Regions from separate parts of the Homo sapiens genome. Here region 2 is linked to region 1. Evidence: promoter capture Hi-C in 16 types of primary human blood cells and fetal thymus (Javierre and others, 2016). All regions are on one chromosome and are shown on one strand. The core of a region is centred on a gene start or on the middle of the fragment in contact, and the rest is flanking DNA. Distances in the headings are between cores, read along the strand shown. Region 1 holds the start of GATAD2B (GATA zinc finger domain containing 2B). Region 2 overlaps TPM3 (tropomyosin 3).

Evidence for each region. Contacts are between HindIII fragments. The CHiCAGO score rates a contact against its expected background, and 5 or more counts as called.
Region 2: a contact is called between a fragment that was not itself captured here and the fragment with the promoter of GATAD2B in region 1, in 5 of 17 cell types (M1 macrophages, M0 macrophages, fetal thymus and 2 more). The highest score is 8.8, in M1 macrophages.

The regions. Positions count from the first base shown.
Region 1 is chr1:153,920,845-153,924,579 of GRCh38, reverse strand. GATAD2B (GATA zinc finger domain containing 2B) reads left to right here and starts at 1,608. Exons shown (of 11, transcript NM_020699.4): 1 at 1,608-1,847. It overlaps LOC101928059 (a long non-coding RNA gene), which reads right to left and starts at 1,207. Exons shown (of 4, transcript XR_922160.3): 1 at 618-1,207. RefSeq lists silencers at 533-827, 1,505-1,824 and an enhancer at 1,135-1,374. The HindIII fragment of the contact is 8,959 bases long and covers 1-3,254 here.
Region 2 is chr1:154,177,593-154,181,250 of GRCh38, reverse strand. The region is part of intron 2 of TPM3 (tropomyosin 3); the gene reads left to right. Among named protein-coding and RNA genes, the nearest start is that of TPM3, 13 kb to the left of the region's middle. RefSeq lists an enhancer at 62-1,058. The HindIII fragment of the contact is 2,058 bases long and covers 778-2,835 here.

The sequences.
Region 1 (3,735 bases), core at 359-2,858:
ATGGGTGCGTCTGTGTTTGTGTAGGATCTACCTACGGCTTTAAGTTGCCATGTCCTCCATTATAATTTCATTTCCATTGCACAGCATGACTTTTAAATAATTTAAAAAACATGTTCAAATACCTGTGGAGGCTGGCGTGGTGGCTCACACACCTGTAATCCCAGCACTTTGGGAGGCTGAGGCAGGAGGATCACCTGAGGTCAGGAGTTCGAGACCAGCCTGGCCAACATGGCGAAACCCCGTCTCTACTAAAAACACAAAAATTAGCCGCGCGCCTGTAATCCCAGCTACTCGGGAGGCTGTTGAGGCAGGAGGATCGTTTGAACCTGGGAGGCGGAGGTTGCAGGAACTGAGATTGTACCACTGCACTCCAGCCTGGGAGACACAGTGAGAAAACAACAATAACAAAATGCCTGTGGAACCAGTTGTTTCTGGGTTTAAACCACTGCTTAGTCACTAACTAGCGGTCTGACCTTTGGCAAGTTACTTAACCTCTCTGAGCCTTAGTTTCCTCATCTACTTGGGTTCAAATTTCAGCTCTACCACTTAACGTGTAACTGGACAAATTTTTTGATCCTAATTTTCCTCATTTGTAAAGTAGGGATAACAGTACCTACCTCACAGTCATGAGGAATAAATACTTCATGTAAAGTTCTTAGCACAGAGCCTGACACAGTCTCTTTCCAAAAACGTTAACTACTATCATAACCTTAACACCCGGACTCTGTTACTTGGTCCCTATCCTCAAGGTGCTCCAGAAACGCTCGCTGAGTTTAGGCGGGCCTAACTGCTCCGTGGAAGCAGGGAGGCCAGCAAAAGGAGCTGGCCCTTGAGTTAATTAGGTGGAATCGGGCGGGGTGGGAGGCTGTTTCCTCGCTGAGAACCTAACCAGACCAGGAGTTCCCAAGAGAAGGAGCTGCGAGGGCTCTGCACACCGTAATTCCTCAGCAACTTGGCTAGCTGCTTTTTTTTTTTTCCTGCTGTCGTGGTTTAGTCACGACAGGACCAAGCGGAGGTACGATGAACACCAGGAAGCTCAAAGCCTTTGGCAGACGGAGACAGGCCACACCCCAAAAAGACGGCAAGGCTCAAGCGCCTAAAGCTAGTTCTATCGTGAAATTTCCTAGAGTCTGTCGCGACGAAACACCGCCCACCGCAGACCCCATCGCCGTTCGCCAGTCTCCATCTTTAGAATTGAAAGAATGAGAGATGGCCAAAGGGGAATCCCGGTTTGGAGAGACTGGGGTACGGCGGCTGCCTGGGGACCAAAACGTCTCTAAGGTAAAGTTGCAGCCTGAAGCGATTTTTTGACCCCCGACACTTAATGGGCTGTCGAAGACCCGGATGTGTCTGGGACTGGCAGAGGTACCCATTAACGCGCCCCCGCTAGACCATCCCCCCTCCTCCGTTTATGATTGGGTTTTAAGCACGCCAATCATCACTTCTCCGGCCACTCATTCTTCAAGGGTGGGGTGAAGTCCCGGCATCTAGTCTTCTACTGGCATGGCCGAGAAGATGAGGGCGGGGTGGCCGGCTTAGGTCGCCCAATGGGCGTCGTGGCGTGTGGGTAAGGCGGAGCCGAGGCGCTTGGCAGCTGCCCAATCAGCGTCCTTGTTTGTGTGGTGCCGCCGCCGCCGGTGCAGCCGTCGCCGCCGCCGCTGCCCCCGTCTGTACCGCAGTGTCTGCTCCGCCCGCCCGCCCCGGTCCGGCCCGCCCCCCTCCCCTACCCCCGTCCCTAGTCCCGTCAGCAGGGTCTGGATCCCCTGTGCCGTCGCCTCTTCCTTTTTCGACGCCTCCGCCGCCGCCTGAGGAGGCGAGCTAGCCGGGAGTTACACCGCCACCGCCAGGTGAGGAGCTTTGGCCTAGGCCAGCCTGGCCGCCCGCCCGCCCGGGGGCGGTGAGGAGCGAGGAAGGGAAGGAGGCTGGGAGGAGGCAGTGGTGGCGGAGGTGGGGGAAGGGAAAGGTGGAGGGGCGGGGGGAGGGGAAGCGCCCGCGAGCCGACGCCCGCCCGCGCGCCCCCGCCTTGCGTCCCCCTCCCCCCACCCCGGCACGGCGCGCCCCCGCCTCGCGCTCCTTCTTCACCTCATCCTCTCCCCCCTTGGCGCGCGCGACCCGGTCTTTCACTTCGGCCTCGCGCGCCCCCAGCTCGTGTCCCTTCATTTCGTCTCCTTGTACTCTTTCTCCCCTCCCTCACGCCCCGTTTCCCCCGCCATCCCCGCTTTCACTCCCTGCCTCATGCCCGCCATGCTCCCCTCCTTTCCTCTCTAGCGCGCCCCCCCCTTTTTTTTTTTAACTCTCTCCACCCCCAGTGGTGCCCTCAGGGTGCGGGGGCCGCTCCCTGCTCAGTCTTGTGTTTGCGGGCGGATGGGACGAATGGGGAATCTAAGGGTAAAGGAAGCACCAGATAATTATCTTTATTTAGGGAAAGGGATCAGGAGCGCATAACCTTACCCCTTTATTTCGTCGTCCACCGTTCGCTCGCCCTCCCGTAGGGGAAGAGAATTGTCTCAGGCTATGTGGGCACTTAGCTTCTACAGCGACTGGGCTTGTGGGACACACTGGATCTGTCTTCCAGTTCAGTTCCTGAGGGTCGGTGGAACTTACCCTTCCCTAACCACACCGGGACTTAGAGTACTTTTGGCCTCCCTGCTCTCAATTACATTGAGGAGCGAGCCACTCATGCGAGTGCAGAGGTTCAGGTGCCATTCGCGCGCCCGGTACAGCTTTCCCGTTTCATAAAGGTATGGTAGCCTCTTTGGATTCTTCCCCAGCATCAACTTCCAAACACAAGATGTTAGCTCATAGGGCTGGCAGTGAGGTGGAGATGGAGGCTTGGTGGTGGGTGGCATGTGGATGCTAACTGAGCTAGCTAGCAACCTTTTCTCTGTTGTCCCCTGGAAAATCAGGTAGCCTCCTGAGAACCAGTTTTCTCATTTCTGATAAATGCTTATTTGGGGGGCGTGTGTGTGTGCGTGTGTGTGTGTGTAAGAGAGAGAGAGAGATGGGGGGATACTTAATACATTTCAGCAGAGGCGAAGGATACTTAATATATTTCAGCAAAGGGCAAGAGCAGTGTTTTCAGGCCAGACTGCAAAAGAGGGATTTGGATTTGTAGCTGATGGAATTAAAACAGGTTTAACAGATCTGTGTTGGAGAAGAGCTGATGCTTTTGTAGTTTTTAGGACATTTTTTCTAAAAATTTATATTTTGAGTAGAAAAGCATGCATGTGGTTGTACAAAGTGAAAAGTAAGCTTCCTTCCCATCTCTGTCCTCCAGCCATCTAGTCTCCTTCCCCTCCTAGCACAGATGACTTTGATGTTTTCTGGCAGCAGCATGGTGCCTATATGTTGTTGGTGATTATCCTGTTTGGGAGTTTAGTGCTAACTTTATTGCTTTTCATTTGGTATGCTGACCTGAACTCTTCCTTGCAGTCTGATAACTTGGATTCTTATTTTGGTGCTGGAGCAGCCTTTCAAGTATTGTCCTAGAGTAGTATTTCTGTCAGTACTTAGTTGGGAAGGAGGCCACTTCTGGAGGTGCTATGGAGGAGTTCAGTATATTTTGAGGGAAGGCCCACACTTGTTGGATCGTGCTGCTTTTTTTGTGACGGATATCTAGTCCCTGGCCATTTGGGAATGGACTGGGTCAAGGATCGGATTCATATAAGCAGATAGCTTATATGAATAACTAGTTGATGGTAAGGCTGTCTTCACTTTTTAGGGGAATAGAGTTTT
Region 2 (3,658 bases), core at 557-3,056, 260 kb before region 1:
TTATAAGTGGTCATGGAGATGCTGGGATGGGAGCTTGTTGTCTTCCTCAGACACCTTTTTCTAGGTAGATTTTTTTCCTCTGTTCAGTTTGCCAACAACTTCTTATTATCTGTGCAAGTGAGATGGACTGGCTGGGTGACTCTTTATGGCCAGTGGCACTTTCTCATCTCCTTTGTTCTGGAGACCAGATAGCTTTAAAGGGGAAGACAGAGGAACTGGCCATGTGTTGAGCTGCAGAATCTTAGGCTCAGTATTTAAATATGGACATTCTAGGAGTAGTTCTAAGGTGGGTGATTCCTGCCTCCCATCCCCCCTCTTTTTTTTTTTAGATGGAGACTTGCTCTGTAGCCCAGCCTGGAATGCAGTTGCACGATCTCTGCTCACTGCAACCTCCACCTCCCAGGCTCAAGTGATTCTCCTGCCTTAGCCTCCTGAGTGGCTGGGATTACAGGCATCCACCACCACACTCGGCGATTTTTTTTTATTATTTTATTTTTTTATTTTTAGTAGAGATGGGGTTTCACCATGTTGGCCAGGCTGGTTTCAAACTCCTGACCTCAAGTGATCTGCCTGCCTCAGCCTCCCAAAGTGCTGAGATTACAGGCATGAGCCACTGCGCCTGTCCTGGGGTGATGTTTCTTAAGCTACTTTCACTCAGAGCCTGCCAAATTTGCTTATTGAGCTGAGGTCTAGTGAGGAAGTCCTCAGAATGGGGAAGTAGAGTTATAGTTAAATATTGATGAAATCATTTCTTCTACTCCCCAGCCTGAAGAAGCTTAATCTTTTGACTTTCTGCTGCTCTGCTGAACTTTGAACCCCTACTGAGGAGGAGACACCTGTGGGAAGGGAGGGGGGTTGCTTGGGCTACCTGTTATCCTCTTAAGGCATTCTGGAATGTGGGTTTTGCAGACTCCTCCCTCCTCTGGAGCGGGAAACTGCACTCTCTGATGGTATCTCATGCTGTTAGTGGGATTGTCACTTAATTATTTTCCTGGTTACTTTGTGTGAACATCCAAGCCACCCTTGTTGGGAAGCTAGATGAGTCTAAAACTGAGACACTGGTGTTCTAGGATCCATCTTTCTTTTCTGCTCTCGGCCTGGAAATTGGTCTTTTATAATGTAGCACCTTGTCAAATTTACTTTCAGTTCTGTATTTCCTTTTTACTTCTGTCTAAATGGAAACAGATGGCAACATAATGTTTAAATGCAGTCTTTTTCCTTATCTCTTTTTTTTTGTGGTAGTGGTGATAAAAATACATGTAAAATTTACCATTTTAACCATTTATAAATGTACAGTTCACCTTATCTGTTTTTAATAACTCTCTCCTAATTGTCCCTGATATTTTTCTCTTTTTAATTTTTTTCTAGTCTAAAAAACTTAAGAGGCTGGGTGCGGTGGCTCACACCTGTAATCCCAGCCCTTTGGGAGGCCTAGGCGGGTGGATCTGAGGTCCACCTGTGGATCTGATGAAACCCCATCTCTACTAAAAATACAAAAAATTAGCTGGGCATGGTGGCGCATGCCTGTAATCCCAGCTACTTGGGAGGCTGAGGCACAAGAATTGCTTCAACCCTGGAGGCGGAGGTGGCAGTGAACCAGGATTGGATCATGCCACTGTACTCCAGCCTGGGCGAGTATCGGCACTGGGGGAGTGAGGGGTCAACTGCGGGAGTGTAAGGTCAGCACACTACCTCTGCCTCAAAAAGAAAAAAAAAAGTAATAACAAAAACCTTAAGAGTACTACCGAGGGAGTGGGCTTTGATTCTGGCCTTAATCCTAAATTCCTAGTCTCTGGAGAGGTTAGAATGCTTGACTGTTGTGTGGTTCTCTTCTATTCGTGGGCCTGGTGGACTAAGCAACCTTTCTTTGGTTGCTTTGCTTTCCTTTCTCTTTCCCCAGTACTAGAACACACACTCACAGGGGAGAGGCAGATAGCCCTTTACCCCTGCTTAGGCTCCGCCTTTGTTTACTGTGGGGCAGATAGCTCTACTCCCTTCCAACTTGCCTCCCCTTTGGTGAAGTTTAAATTCCCCAAGGACACGGTATCTCCCTGGGTAATGCATTTGTGAGCACAGTGAACTCAAATAGTCCTTTACTCACAGGGCTCAAGCCTAACTTTCTGATACTCTTTCATTTGAATTTTATCTGTGGCTTTTATCTAATAAGAGAAACCCCAGTGTGGCAGAAAGCCAGATTTAGGCTAATCCCCTTCTGTCCTTGGCCCTGTTCTGCCTGAGAGTACCATCACACTGTCAGTTTCTTGCCTGGAGGGGTTGACATATTTGGGAAATCTCTTTGGAGTGGAGGATAGCCGAAGGTGTTGTCAGCCATCTGGTAATGTGACTGAGTTGCTGGGGCATTCTACTCTTTCCCCAATCCCTCACCCAGGATCTTTGCTTCCTGGGCAGTGGAGAATCCTATTATTACTTGAAGGGAAGAACCACAGAGTACTGTATATCCTCCACACTGGGCAGAGATAGGTCAGCTGAAACACCAAAACCGCATCTGGATGGGCATGCTAAAACCTAAGATGATTAGGAAAGTGCAGAGCTTAACGTTTCCCAGGGCCACAGGTAGCCTGGTCTGCAAAAAGTAGGCCTGTTCAATCTCTTGGTACCCATTGGTATTATTTGACCTGAAAGGGACAGGCACTGTGCATAGACTCATGAGGGAAAAGTCAGCTTGTCTTCCTTGTTCCTTTAAACAAAGTATCAGATCTTGATTCTGCAGGCTTTTGTTTCATTGTAAAGAGAACTGATCCTCTGTGCTAGGAGAAAAGAGAAAGGCAAGGTCCCATTCCCTACCACTCCACCCTGGAGGGGGTCTCTGAAGCTTTTTCTAGGACTCCCATCTCAGGTTCTGCTTTTGATACAGGCTTGTTCATGTGTGCATGCTCTTAGGAGGGCACCAAGATGTGTTTTCCCCCTCTCCCTTTTCAGCCTTGCTAAGAATTCTATTGTAAATGCTGATTTGTGGGAGAAACTGCCTGAGCCAGCTTGCTGTCATGGCAACTGTACACCCCCGCCCCATAGCCTGTTATCTTCTACTCCAGTTTGGGTAACTACTGGTGAGCTGCATGATGTCTTACATTTCATGAGCTTCCTCTAAATCTAGTTGTATTTTTCGTCTGAGGGGGGTAAGTCATTTTACTAGCAGTGTCTCCTAGGTCTTGCCTGATAGCCTGACTTGCTCTTGATCCATGGCCTTGTTGGGTTTGTGAGGAGAAATGTGTGTTGTTACAGAGAACATCTATTTTTCTGGAAGAGGCAGAAGCAGAGAATACTTGTCTTTGTGGTGTTTTGAGTAGTGTAGTTAGAGGCACAAATGGTTTCTTAATGATTTCAGCTTATGTTGACTTCTCGATTTTCTTTGCCTGGTGGCTAGATTGTAGCCCCAGCCCTCTGCTTCCCTTCCTAGTCTCTTCAGCTTCTCATGTTTGTATGTGGAAGTTTTTGTGCCAGTCCTGATGGTTAAAAAGGAGTCTTTTGGTCTATATTCTTCCTCATCGGAGCTAGTGGCCCAGGCTGTTTCTATAGCTGCACCAACTCCTGCCTGCCAGGAAGAAATCAGGGTAATAGAATTCAGGCACAATCTGGGCTATAGAAGAGAGATCGTGTTTACCAGGCACTTGGATAAGCATCTGAACTGGGTGGTGTG